Regions from separate parts of the Homo sapiens genome. Here region 2 is linked to region 1. The links are contacts of gene promoters, found by promoter capture Hi-C in human tissues and cell types (Jung and others, 2019). All regions are on one chromosome and are shown on one strand. The core of a region is centred on a gene start or on the middle of the fragment in contact, and the rest is flanking DNA. Distances in the headings are between cores, read along the strand shown.

The links. Contacts are between HindIII fragments. The study calls those that stand out against the background at their distance.
Region 2: a contact is called between a fragment that was not itself captured here and the fragment with the promoter of CCDC177 in region 1, in 1 of the 25 tissues and cell types used here (lymphoblastoid cells).

Annotation. Positions count from the first base shown.
Region 1 is chr14:69,571,598-69,578,813 of GRCh38, reverse strand. It overlaps CCDC177 (coiled-coil domain containing 177), which reads left to right and starts at 3,943. Exons shown (of 2, transcript NM_001271507.2): 1 at 3,943-4,272; 2 at 5,164-7,216. The coding sequence starts at 5,192. The HindIII fragment of the contact is 5,538 bases long and covers 2,329-7,216 here.
Region 2 is chr14:69,237,245-69,244,460 of GRCh38, reverse strand. EXD2 (exonuclease 3'-5' domain containing 2) reads right to left here. Exons shown (of 10, transcript NM_001193360.2): 9 at 6,530-6,886; 10 at 443-3,577. The coding sequence ends at 3,361. The region is part of intron 2 of GALNT16-AS1 (GALNT16 and EXD2 antisense RNA 1); the gene reads left to right. Among named protein-coding and RNA genes, the nearest start is that of GALNT16, 19 kb to the left of the region's middle. RefSeq lists an enhancer at 5,115-5,739. The HindIII fragment of the contact is 5,157 bases long and covers 543-5,699 here.

The sequences.
Region 1 (7,216 bases), core at 2,694-5,193:
CGCTTCTAGTCCCAGCTACTCAGGATGCTGAGGCAGAAGAATTGCTTGAACCCGGGAGGTGGAGGTTGCAGTGAGCCAAGATCGCACCACTGTACTCCAGCCTGGGTGACAGAGTGTGAGACTCCATCTCAAAAAAAAAAAAGAAAGAAAGAAATGGTAACCATTGTATCACTGCTTACTGACAATGTGCTGGTCTAGGTACTTTGCATATAGCTGTTCCAGTTCTGCTAACACTCTTGGAAGGTAGGCATTATTGTCCCTATTTAACAAATGTGAAAACTGAAGGATAAAGTTAACATCTACATAGTTTTTCCACAGCCATGATTAGCCATTGAGGGAGGCAATTTAATAAGATTCTATGCAAGGGGGGAAAATGAGGTTTGGAGAGGCCAACTTGCCCACCCTACTCATCTCCATCTGAATCTACATGTCTACAGACACTCAGTTTGGTGTGGAAATATTAATACAATGCATGTGATCCACTTCAGAATCAGACAGAGCCAGGTCCAAATCCCAGCCCCACCTGTACTAGCTTTGTGACCAACTGCTTTTCTCTATTCAGAGCAATTTTTAATGTCATTTCTACATGTCTTTTTTTTTTCCCCCCGAAACGGAGTCTCACTCTGTCATCCAGGCTGTAGTGCAGTGGCGCCATCTCAGCTCACTGCAACCTCCGCCTCCCAGGTTCAAGCAATTCTCCTGCCTCAGCCTCCCAAGTAGCTGGGATTACAGGTGCCTGCCACCATACCCGGCTAATTTTTGTATTTTTAGTAGAGATGGGGTTTCACTATGTTGGCCAGGCTGGTCTCCAACTCCTGACTTCAAATGATCCACCCACCTCGGCCTCCCAAAATGCTGGGATTACAGGTGTGAGCCACCGTGCCCAGCCAATTTCTACATATCTTGTAAAGAGGATTATTCCTTCCTTCCTTTTTTTTTTTTTTTTTTTTTTTTTTTGATGGAGTCTTACTCTGTCACTCAGGCTGGAGTTCAGCGGCGTGATCTCGGTTCACTGCAACTTCCACCTCCCAGGTTGAAGCAACTTTCCTGCCTCAGCCTCCCGAGTAGCTGGGATTACAGGTGTCTGCCACAATGCCCAGCAAATTTTTGTATTTTAAATAGAGACGGGATTTCACCATGTTGGCCAGGCTGGTCTCGAACTCCAGGGCTCAAGTAATCCATCCAACTCGGCCTCCCAAAGTGCTGAGATTACAGACGTGAGCCACTGCACCCAGCCATCCTTCCTTTCTTGACAGAGTCTCACTTTGTTCCCTAGAGTGAGAGGCTGGAGTGCAGTGGCACAATCACAGTTTACTGCAGTGTCCAACACCCAGGCTCAAGCAATCCTCCTACCTCAGCCTCCAGAGTATCTGGGACTACAGGTGTGCACCACCACGCCTGGCTAATTTTATTAATTTTTGTAAAGACAAGGTCTCACTATGTTGCCCAGGCTGGTCTCAAACTCTTGGGCTCAGCCAATCCTCCCGCCTTGGCCTCCCAAAGTGCCAGATTGCAGGTAGGAGCCACCATGCCCAGCTGGACTGTTTTTCAAGGATGATAGAGATAGAATCTCCCTCCAGGGAAGCAGGGAGATTTGTTTGCAGTCCAGGATAATAAAGATAATGCTGTCACTGGGGCAATGGTTGAGCAGGTTTGCTAGTAGCCCTGTTGAGAAGTTTAGGGTTTACTAATCTCTACCTAATTCACTACCTGTCTATGACCCATGGGACACATGGAGCAAGGGGAGCCAACAAAAGCATGATCTCATGCTGCCTGCTGTGCCATGAGTAACAAAGTCAGTGGTTTCTGACCCTGGAGTCTCCTGTCTTCTGCCAGCATATACAGAACAGTGGCAGGCTCACCTGTTAGTATGTAAGTAGGGTAAAATTCCAAAGGCTTCGTGTTCTTAAAACTACTACCTGAATGTCAAAAGCATCAGTAATTCTCACCTCCCATTGCACCTCAGCTTCCTGCACTTGGCATCTGCCCTAGTGCAATACTAAGCTGTTTTTGCCAATGTCACCCAAGACTCATAACTGCCAGTTTCAGTGGGTATTTGACTCCAGGTGAAACCTCCTGGACCTCTGCAGCCCTTAACACAAGGGGCACACTCTCCTTCTGCAGTGCCCCACTGGTAGCTCACACAAGACCACACTTTGCTGTCTGTCCTTGTTGCACTCCTTGTTGGTCCCCTTCGTGCACTCCTTTTCCCTTAGCAGCCCTATCCATGCCCTGCCAGCCTCTCTCATTGCTCCACCTGCCCTCCCTGAGTGATCTCACTCACACTGTTGGTTTTAGGAACCAGGTATAGGGTCACGATGTCCTAATTCTAGCTCCAGTCCAGATCTCTGACACAACTTATCAGCCACCTGCTGAGCAGCTCCACCTCAATCAAGAGGTCCGAAAAGGAAACCATCCTTCCCTGGCCCTCCCCATCACTATGTGCTGTATTCCTCCTGCCACTGTTCCTCTCTGGCCCCAATCCTTCCTGCCTGGGGTGACCACAGTGTCCAGCTAACTGGGCTTCCTGCCTCCTCTTGGCCCTGGCCTTTGTAAAGCCTCCACTTCACTGTTGCCAGAGTTATGTTCCTAAAATAAAAACCAAATCATGTCATTTCCCCACTTAAAACCCTTCACTTTCTCCTCACAGTCTACCTGACAATGTCAAGGTTATTTTTTAAAATTTAATTTTTTTTTCTTGAGATGGAGTCTCGCTCTGTCATCAGGCTGGGGTGCAGTGGTGAGATCTCGGCTCACTGCAACCTCTGCCTCCCAGGTTCAAGCGATTCTCCTGCCTCAGCCTCCTGAGTAGCTGGGATTACAGCTGCATGCCACCACACCCGGCTAATTTTTGTATTTTCAGTAGAGACGGAGTTTCACCATGTTGGCCAGGCTGGTCTCGAATTCCTGATCTCAAGTGATCCATCCGCCTCGCCCTCCCAAAGTGCTCGGATTACAGGTGTGTGCCACCACACCCAGCCAAGGTTATTTAATGCATAGTTCAATATTCCCTCTAATGTTATGTCCCATCCTCTCCTCGACTTCCCTCCATCAAGCACTCCTCCGGTCTGTCTCCTACGGCCACTATCACTCAAAATGGAAAAGAGGTGGGCAGGAGATGTCTCAAAATAACACTCATTGTATGGCACTAACTGGTTATAATTGTTATTATCTATAACCAGGAAGTCATAAAATGTTGCATTAAACACCAGTTACATATGTTCCACCTGCGTCAAACCCATAAGTGTTCTTAGTTTTTGTTTGTTTTTATTTTGTTTTATTTTGTTTGAGACAGGGTCTCACTCTGTCACCCAGGCTGCAGTGCGGTGGTGCAGTCATGGTTCACCGCAGCCTCAACCTCCTGGGCTCAGGTGATCCTCCCACTTCAGCCTCTGGAGTAGCTGGGACTACAGGCACAGGACACCACCCCAGCTAATTCTTGAAAATTTTTTTAGAGATGGGGACTCGCTATGTTGTCCAGGCTGGTCTCAAATTCCTGGACTCAAGTAATCCACTGGCCTCGACCTCCCGAAGTGCTGGGATTACAGGTGTAAGCCACCTTGCCCAGCCTGTTTTTAGTTTTTCATTGAAAAAAAAAAAATCACAATTTGCATCAGGCGCCATATTTCCACCCAATTATTCGCTATCAAGTTTGTTTGCTCCTCAGGGTTTCCTTTAGAAACAAGCTGAGCAATTCCTTCATTCTACCCAGTTAGGCTGCTGAAAGACTAGGGTTTCTTGGTGATTTATATATCGATATCTATCCATATCTATACCTACATCTACCTGTATGTGTGTAGTGTATATATATACATATTATATGTGTGTATATATGTACATATATACATTTAAACAAAAATTTCTCCTTCGTCCTCGAAGCAAACAAACCAGCACCCTCGAGTGTCCGCCAGGAGGCGCAGGGGGCAGCGTGGGACCTGCGGTACCTCCACGGTTGTAGAGGTGTAGAGGGATGCCGCAGCGACGGAACCGGGCTTCTTTTTTAAAGAATCAATGTGAGGGAAGGGTGCAGAGCCGCGTTATTTTAGGGAGACATTGTCGCACTCCCCCTCCCACGTGTAGGTAGCATCTGGGGTGCGTGCGCCCTGTTCGCAGACCCCATGGAGAGACGCTGGCGGCGGCAGATGGGGCTCCTTTCACGGTTGCAGCCGGCAGTAACCCGACCCCGCCGGCGCAGAGACTGAAGAAGCGCAGGGGACAGCGGCGAGCTGCGAACAAAAGCCCTTGGCGCGGGGCCGAAGCCCAGGACGCGGGGTGAGTAAACCGGCTCGGGTACCGGGAGCTGCGGGAACCTGGGCGGCCAGGTTCTTTGCACTCCAGGAGCCCACCCACTGGGATGCTGTGGGGGAACTCGGAGGGCACCCGAGGGCGGGTATCTGAACCCCGACTGGGGTGGATGGTATCTTTAGCACATTCAGACTTGGAGGAGATCCGGTGCGTCTGAGAGTATCCAGGCACCTTCTCCATCCCCAGCAAACACCCGGTGGGGGTGGAGGTGGGGGCGGAGGCGGCGTGCAGAGCCCTCAGTAAGCCCTGCCAGAGCTGCTGGAGCAAGAATCCATCACCCCTCCCGGAGAGGCCTTTGGGGACTTCTCCCAGCCCTTTAATCACCCGGGGGCCTTGCGACCGAGTCTCCTTTGGCAGGGGAAATCAACCATAAACTTCTTCCCTTAGGCAAATGGGGTCCCTTGGGATGAACAGGCCTCTTGCTTTTTTGTTCCTGCAAAGCTGCATCCCCAGTAGCCCGCCTAAGCTACAAACAAATACGCTAATCCTCCCGGGAATCCTCCAGCGCCTCCCTCTCTAGCTCCTGCCTGCACCTGGATCTTTTCATCTTAACTTGCAGCAGAAAGGGGATGCATCTAGCGGGCTAGGCGCCCAGAGGAGCCTCGCCACAGGCCTCCACCCCGCATTCCGGGGCTGAGGGAGACCCAGGCTGCTCTCTGAACACGAGTGTCCGCCCCACCCCCATCCCCGTTCTGGCGCTCAGCCTGGGCTTTCCGACATCGGTTTTATGATTTACGTTCCACCAAAGCCTCTGAGCCTAATCCGAAAGCGGATTAAGTTGGGATGGGGTGACTATGGATGAGGAGGGGGGAAGAGCTCTCAGACGTATTCCTCGATGTCCCTCCTTGTGATCTGCAGAGATTCCAACAAAGGACGGGGCTCAGCCATGGTGGACCCAGTGCCTGAAGAAGAGAAGGCAGGAGCGGAACCCGGCGACTCTGGAGGGGACGAGGCCGTGGCGTCCGTGCCCCCTGATTCCCAGGGCGCACAGGAGCCCGCAGCTTCCTCGGCCTCGGCCTCGGCCTCCGCGGCGGTGCCCCGCAAGGCAGAAGTCCCATGTGCAGCCGCAGAAGGCGGGCGGCGGGAGCAGTCCCCGCTGCTGCACCTCGACCTCTTCAACTTCGACTGCCCAGAGGCGGAGGGCAGCCGCTACGTGCTGACCAGCCCCCGCTCGCTAGAGGCCTGCGCCCGCTGTGCGGTCAAGCCGGTGGAGCTGCTGCCACGGGCCCTGGCCGACCTGGTGCGAGAGGCTCCGGGCCGCTCCATGCGGGTGGCCACCGGCCTGTATGAGGCCTACGAGGCGGAGCGGCGCGCCAAGCTGCAGCAATGCCGGGCCGAGCGCGAGCGCATCATGCGCGAGGAGAAGCGGCGTCTTTTCACGCCTTTGAGCCCCGCGGCCGCCGCCGCCGCCGCCGCCGCCGCGGCCTCGGCCCCGAGCGCGGGCAGCAGCAGCAGCTGCAGCAGCGCCAGCCTCCCGGCCTCGCCCGCGCCGCGTGCGGCCCGCAAGGCTTCCCCTAGTCCCTCCTCCGCCCGGACCCAACCTCCGCCAGCGGGTTCTCGAACAGGCAGGAAGAGCCATTCGCTGGACTCACTGTCCCGCCGGCGTGAGGGCGCCCTCAGCTCCGAGTCGGGCGCATCGTCGTCATCCTACAGTGGGGAAAGCTTGAGGGAGCTGCGCTGGCCGCCTCGGGCCTCGGCCAGGAACAGCTGCCCAGCGGGGTCGGCGTCCTCCACCACCAACGCTCCGGGCCGCCCGTCTGCCCTGACCCTGGTTCCGATCACCGGCCGCAGCTTCAGCCTCGGCGACCTGAGCCATTCGCCGCAGACCGCTCAGCACGTGGAGCGCATCGTGCGTCAAGTGCGTGCAGAGCGCGGCCTGCGCGGGGTGCCGGAGCGTGACCGGAAGATCGCGGCGCTCATGCTGGCGCGGCACCAGGAGGAGCTCCTGCTGCTGGAGCAACGCGCGGCTGCCCACGGCCAGTGGGAGCTGCAGCGCGTGCACGCCAAGCAGCGGCGGGAGCGCGAGGAGCGGGAGAAGCAGCGCGCCCTAGAGCAGGGCCGCCGAGCCTGGGCCGCGCAGGTGGAGGAGCGGCGAGGCCGCCGTGGCCGCGAAGAGCGCGAGGCGGCGCGGCGGCGGCAGCGGCAGTACGAGCGCAGCGAGGAGCGGCGGCGGGAGCTGGCCGAACGCCAGGGCCTCCTGCGGCGGGAGCGGGCGGAGCGCGCGGCCCGGGAGGATCGGCTGCGCAAGCTTCAGCAGGAGCAGAACCTGAAGCAACGTGAGGAAGGTCTACAGGAAGGGCGGGAGCGGGCTGAGCAGATCCGCAGGGAGCGCGCCCAGCGCGCGGCCCGCGCCAAGCAGCGGCAGGAGGGCCAGCTGCAGCGGGAGAAGCGGGAGCTGAGCCGGGCCGAGCGGGCGCGCCACGAGGCGCTGCTACAGGGTCGGACCCGGCAGCAGCGCCAGGAGCGAGAGGGCCTGCGGAGCTCGCTGGAAGCCAGTTTGGGCCGTGCGCAGGAGAACTACGAGCATTTGGTGGAGCAGCGCACCCGGGAGCTGCGGGAGCGGGCCCGGCGAGAGGAGCTGCAGGGTCGGCGGGCCAAGGAGGCGGCAGAGCGCAAAGAGCGGGAACATCAGGCGCACCTGGAGGCGCTGGCCCGGGCGGGGGAGCGACGGCTGCAGCACGCGACGCAGGTGGCCGAGGAAGCAGTGCAGCAGAAGGCGCGGCGCGTGGGCCAGAGCCGGCTGGAGAAGGAACGAGCCCAGCGCGCCAACAAGGAGAAGGTGGAGAGGGACGAAGACTGCCGCCGGCGAGAGCTACTCCAGGCCATCGGGCGCAAGCTGGAGCGCAGCGAGCAGCTGACGCGGGAACGGCGCAGTGCGCTGGAGAGCGCCCGCTCCACAGCCCGGGCTTCC
Region 2 (7,216 bases), core at 1,872-4,371, 330 kb after region 1:
GTAAACTAGCAAACTGAGAAAATATCTCCTTTAAAAGAAAAAATGATACTTCTTATAAGGCTGAGACATAAGGAAGGGGAAAAAAAGGAAGAAAGGATAAATAAATGAATGAAAAATTGAGAGGCAGGGTAAACTAAGAACTTAACTTACAGTCAAATGTTAGGGCCCCAAACTAATAGGCGAATAGGAAGGTGAACAAAACCTCTTTCTGCCTGCTGGATTCTTAAGAGTCTAAAATGCATGATTAAAATGGCTTTATTTCAACAGAACACATTTTGTCATCTGATCTCTATCCGTGACATGGATAAGAATAAGTAACTTATGGCTGTGCTCTTAAGCGTAAGCCGTAACAAATCCCTGAATATTGTGCCTCATTCACTTTGGGATGGCAAATCACTAATTGTTTGTGTAGCAGGGAAAAAACATCTGCCTACAGCCTATATTTTAAAATTTAAAATTTTATTTTTTTACCTTTTTTTTACATTTTTATTTTAAAATAAACAGTGTTTCCAAAAAACATTGACTACAAGGGGGAAATGAGGCAATAAGGTTGGAAGAAGGGAAGGACTCAAGAAGAAATGCTGAACCTGCAAACACAATGATCAGGGAGCATGCAGAGAGGCCCTTGCTGTGACACTGTCCTCTCACTGCTACTCCTATGAAGCCCAGTGACTATGCTGGGACACTGGAGCTAAAGGGTCAAAGAGAAGCATTTCATTCCTAAAAGGTGATGTCAATTTGTACTTAGCCCCAGCAATGTGAATCCCCCTCTTCACAGTCCAATTCTAAGATTCCATTCTTAAGAAATTACCAAAGATAGAGCCAAAGAGATATATACAAGAAACTTTATCACATCATCATTGATAATAAAAGTATCTGAAACAACCAAAATTTTCAACAGTGTGGGGATGGATAAGGTAGAACCACTAGAAATCTATTTTCAAAGATTTAAAAACATAGGAAGTTACTCGTGATACCATGTTAATCAGTGAGAGGGTAAAGTTAGGATACCAACCTGTATCTATGTATGACCTTCAATTTTGTGTAAATATACACCTTATATGCACTTTTTAATACTGAAAGGAAATTCATAAACATATCAGCAAAGTTTAGCTCTGTTTTAGATGGAGAGAAGATGGCTAATTTTTATTCTTTGTTTAGATTCTTCTGTAATGAGCATTGTTACTTTTATATCAGAAAAATAGACATTTGCCATAAAATAAGTCTACCCTCAAATCTCTGATTTAAGACGACAATTGTCAGTCTTAGGAAAAGCCTGCTAAAGTTCAAAGCAGACTCAAAGAAAAAAGATTCAAATCTACACAGTGACTCTCTCCTGAAAAGGATGAGAAATCTTGTGTGACGCAGTCTGGCTTTTTCCTCTACTTTGCTGCTGGCTCTATTTTACTGCGCCTCACAGAAAGCTCCATGGGAAAACCCTTTCCCTAGCACCTTAAATGACCTTAAGTGTTTCTCACCTCTTGGCATGAGGATTAGAAGGAAAGAAAATGAAACAGCCCTACTCCCTTGTTTCAAAGGAAAAATTTTTCTTGCAAAGCTATCAAAATGACTTAAAATCAGCTATGCAAAATTTGAAACATAAGTCATGAGTTACGTTCAGTAACCAGTTGCTTTTTTCTCAAGAATGAATATAAAAACAAATCTATGAGTGCCCTCTTGTGGCAAGCCTGACTATTACCACAACCCAAGTACCAGCCTCTCCCTGTCTATTTCCACGGCTCTCCTCCACTCCTGGGCTCCGCATAACACAGCCAGGAGGCAGAGACCCCATAATAACCCACTACAGTGAATGCACATTCCTCAAAGTGGCTGGTACTATTTGTTTTCAAGGATTTCTAGTTTAGATCCCAGAAATGCCTGCCTGAAGACAAGTGGGAATGAAGGGTCAGAAGAGCAAGATGCAGGATGTGCACGTGGGTTCATGGGCTGCTACTGATGGCCGATGGTGACTGTGTCTGGTATATCCATGCACACATACCATGGCACTGCCAGGAGGCAGGGACCTGTAGGATAAATAGCCCCTCCCCTAGGAATGCCAGTTTTATAAAGTCGCGAAGTTTTACATTTACATCCAGTGAGCCTTGTGCTTACAAGTAGTTTTATTATTAATTTTAGAGTAAACATCACCAACTTGGGCACAATTCCAAAATAGAGCTCTTGTTGGATTCTGGTCATAAAATTCTTTTTTAAGCTTGTTAAGATCTTATAAAATAAGAAAGTTTTCCCAATACTTTAGAAAAATTACTAATCATTAATAAGTCGATTTTATACTCAAAGTAATGGCCTAACATTTTGAAAGATGAAACAACGCTCCTCTTTTGAACATCTAATGTATTAAGTAAGCTCAGTGTCCCAGGCTTCAGAGGAGACAGAGAAGTCCTCATATTGCAACCTGACCAGATGACTCTGGGAGTGAATTAAATGCTTAAAAGAGGTCAGTCTTGCAAATTCGATGAAGCACAGAATACAGGGGAACTGATACTGATTCTGATAAAAGATAACATTACTCTCAGAAAGGGGTGAAGCTAAAAATCTTGCAGTTCTGGGGCAGGAGGAGTGCAACAAGCAGGCAACAAACAGCATGAAAGGAAAAGCTGAGTGAATTTCAAAGTTCTATTGGGAGATGGAGTTTGTGGTTCTTTCTGCCCCACCCAGGTCAAAGGCTCATGTCCAGAAAAGGATTTCTCCCAGTGATAGGGTGGAAGTGTGTGGCAGGAAGTTGCTGTTTGGTCCTGGAAGTGTAAAGGAAAGCCTTTTCAAGTACGTGAAGTAGACTGAAGTGACCCAGATGGGATGGATCCCAACCACATGAGTTACGGGAGAGCATGAAGCCAAAGAAATGATAATTATGAAGTTGAATTGGGAAAATAAATTTGACTCCTTGTTCACTTCTCCAGCCTTTGGAAGAACTTTTTCTCCCCTCCTAACAGGACCGATATACTGGACAGCCCCTGTTAGAGATAAACCGAGGCACTAGACAAGGAAGAAATGCATTAAAAACATTTTTTTTAAGTCTTGACAAGTCACTTCTGGGAGAATTCTTCATTTTTCCTCTGCACAGGGACAGCAGAAGAGGGAGAGTAAAAATAAAGGCGAAGGCCTCTCTTGTCCACAAAAATGAGAGGAAAAAAGACCCTGCCCGTTTAAAATCCAAAACCATAAACTCTCCTTCAAACAATATCTTTGCTCCAGCAGAAGCATCCTGGGATTAGTCTAGGTTAGTATTCTGAGTTGTGTCACACAGGCTTTGACAATTAATGATGTACTAAAATGGGAAGAGGTGACTCTTCAACCTTGGCTCCAGCTTCCCACTTGTCCTAACTGGGAGGAAAGCAGCTATCAAGACAGCTGGATGGGAAGATCTTCCCCGAATTTCCGGAGCAGCTTCTGATGGTTGTGGTCCACTGACCACTGCTGGGGCAGGTGCTTGGGCTGCATGGAGTCCAGGAAGTGCTGACGCCAGCGGCTCTCCAGCTGCATGAGGGAGCGCAGGCCACCCTGGCTGTGACACTGCACCACCTTCAGCCCGTGAGGAACATAGTTTTCATTGGAGATTCTGCCAAAACATGAAAAACAAAGTGTCTGAGGGAAACAAGCGCAGGATGGCCTCACAGACAGCTTCAAATGCTGCGCGCCAAGGGTAACTGGGGAGGTTGAAGGACTCCTAAAGGGTTAGTTACTTTGGTGTTTTCGAAACATCCTCTTTCTTATCTCTGCCCTTTTTATAGTCTGAACATACGACTCGCAATCCCAACAGAAGGTATTTGAGGGTTCTGAGCTCTACTGACAGGAAGGCCACTTCATAATGTTCAGCTCCCACGAGAGGGGCACTACCATCCAGCTGATAATGGATGAAGAATGCTGGTCTTCCATTTCTTCCAGGATTACCCAGTGACCAGTTCACCCCTCTTTTAAGTTGTTCATTCTGGGACACAGTATTTATATGAGGCTGTTAAATCGGCCCGCATGTTACACTTTTTCACAACACAATTTAATAACTGAATGTCAAATGCAAGGTAGCATATTTCTTTAGAGCCTTTTTTCTCACAAAAAGATGCCAAGCCACAGTGGTGAGAAGTGTTTCGGTCACAGTGAAATGCTTCCATGGTTGCTCAGTTGTGCAAATGGTGCCATTAAATGAGAAGATGAATGCCTCCCTCCTTCCTAACTAAGCAGAGTCCTTAAAAAACTGCTCCGATGCTGTGTGAATGGTGCTTTCACCTCCTGTGAATAAAGATGACCTTCCTCAAGGAAGCACCCTGCCCACACACACTCTCCTCTCCCTACATCCATACCCCATGTTCAATCCTCCCTCCCAAGACACCCGCCACCCCAGCAGTGTTGGCGTCTCTGGGTATCTGCAGACACTTTATTATTAATATTTAGCTCATGCGCTTCCCACTAACTTGCCTGTCTCCAAACAACTGTTCTTCTCAGTCACAAGTCCAGCATTCATCTACCCAATTCAGCAAGATGAATTTGTTAGAAAAGTCTGTGGCCGAAAGGGGAGGTTTAGCTGCTTTAGAAAACATATTGGCAGCTGGGCGTGGTGGCTCATGCCTGTAATCCCAGCACTTTGGGAGGCCAAAGCAGGAGGATCACTTGAGGTCAGGAGTTCGAGACCAGCCTGACCAACGAGGTGAAACCCTGCCTCTACTAAAAATACAAAAATTAGCCGTGTGTGGTGGCACACACTTGTAATCCCAGCTACTTACAAAACAACATCTATTCTACAACCTCACAAAATAGTTATGGGGATAAAATTCTATAATTCTTTTAAAACCCTGAAAGATTTTTTAAATTTAAGATATAGTAGCAGTTAACCAGTAAGAAATCTAAATCCTACTTTGTCGGGTTGTCATGAGAAACAATTAAGGCAATTTATGTGAAGTTTATTAGCTGGTTTGCTGCAAGATATAGTATATCTATAAATAACTGTTCAATAAATATTTGCAGTATCTGTAATGGATCAGTAGTAATGGATAAGAGTAAAAAAATTTTTGTTTTCTAAAAAAATTAAATATTTGCTTATAATTGGAGTTACTTTTTTATTTTTCAGTTAACAAAAACCAGCATCACGCTCAAGGTTTTGTGAACTTATCAGTTCCCTTATTTCAACTCCTGGTCCTGTTGGAAAAAGTGACAGTTGGGAGGCAGAACTGCGCATGGTAGCCCAGAGCTCTTACCATCTGAGCCACGTGCCCATTCATTTCTCATTTCAGAATACTGCATTGTGTCACAAGAATTCAACTATGTACTCATGGAGAAGGAGGGAGAAAGCAAGGAAGGAAAAAAGAGAAAAGTAATTTACATAGTAACAGCAATTCTGCTCAACATTCCATTCAGTGAGCCGATACCCTGGAGTGCAGGTGAGATAGGAACCATGAATTCATTAGTCACAGTTCTCACAGACCTGTATAAAGTCGGAGACACAAAACCACACATAGAATTGGCCCTCCATCTTTGTGGGTTCTGCATCTGTGGATTCAAACCTCAGATCAAAATGATTTGGGGCCAGGCACAGTGGTTCATGCCTGTAATCCCAGTTCTTCCAAGGCAGGTGGATTGCTTGAGGTCAGGAATCTGAGACCAGCCTGGGCAGCCTGGTGAAACCCCATCTCTACAAAAAATACAAAGATTAGCTGGGTGTGGTGGTGCATGCTTGTAGTCCCAGCTACTTGGGAGGCTGAGGTGAGAGGATCACTTGAGCCTGGGAGGTGGAAGTTACAGTGAGCCAAGATAGTGCCACTGCACTCCAGCCTGGGTGACAGAGCCATATACTATCTCAAAAAAACAAAACAAAAAAACCACAAAACTATTTGGAAAAAAAAAAAAAAAAACTATCTGTACTATCTGTACCAAACATGTACAAACTTTTTTCTCATTACTTCATAAACAATAAAATATAAAAGCTACTTACATAGCATTTGCATTGTATTAGGTATTATAAGTAATTTACAGGTTATTTAAAGTATACAGGAGGATGTGTGCAGGATATATGCAAATACTATGCCATTGTATATCAGGCACTTAAGCATTGGTGGATTTTAGTATCCAAGGGAGGTCCTGGAACCAATCCCCCATGGATACTGAGGGGTGAATGTACTGTATCTCATGGGGAACTTCAGAACTTCGAGGGTGTTATTGGACTATTATTTCATCTCATGTGCTGGCATGAGGATTTACGTCTGCATAGAATGTGTAAGATGCAGCTCCACCACAACTGCACTCGCACGCTAATCACAAAAATGACCGAAATTAAGTGTATGATCTTTAAAAAGGTCAAAGATAGGCACCTCACAAAAGCAAGTTTCCTATGGAAAGGAACTCCTCAAGTAGATTGTTCTATTCCACTTCCAAGGTATCTTAAACTACTAGACACCTACTAGGTGAAGCATGAGGCTAGGCACTGTGCCTAAGCAGCCAATGCCCCCTCCCTGGCAAGCATTCTCACTAAGTAATGAGGGTTAATGTCCCTGGTACATTCCACAATTCCTGTGCTTTGTACCTGGTCTCCAGGCTGGCAGCCTCTTGAAGCATCTCCTCTGTGACCACGTCTGTGTTATAAAACTCTCTGAGTGCTTGCAGCAGCTCCTCCTTTCGCTGAGTAGGCAGGCTCTCCGCGTTGAGCAGGGCCCTGGCCCCAGAACGCACCTGCCGGCGCTCAGGATCTTCCAGCAGGCGCAAGCCCTCCTCAGAGCCGATGGGGGCCTGGAACTCCTTGGCCAGCTGCTGCTTCAGATGGTTGTCATAGTAGTTGGAAATGGCATGGCAGGAGGTGCAGAGCAGCAGCACATCGTGGGAGTTGTGGTCCTTCATCTCGATGGGGAAGTGCTTCCGGTACTCATGTGGAATCACGTTCTTCCTGGAACAAGCCCAGCCGGAAAGCAGCGCTCATAAGTGTATGACAGAGCACATGGGAAGACAGCAGACAGGCTACTGGGGTTCTAACTGGGGCCTAACCATGACTGAGAAGCCTTGGGCACCACCGCCCAACACAGATCACAGAAAGGCAGTATCACCTATTCCACTCTCAGCCCATCTGTGTCTTAGCTTCCTCTCTCCTGCAAGTAAGTACAGACCACCTGCTGTGGGCTTCAGTGGTGGGCCAGCATAGTGACAGGTTAATAACAACCTCTGAGAAGGCTGTGCTCCCAGAAGGGAAAGTCTCAGAGAACTGAAAAGATACTCTAAT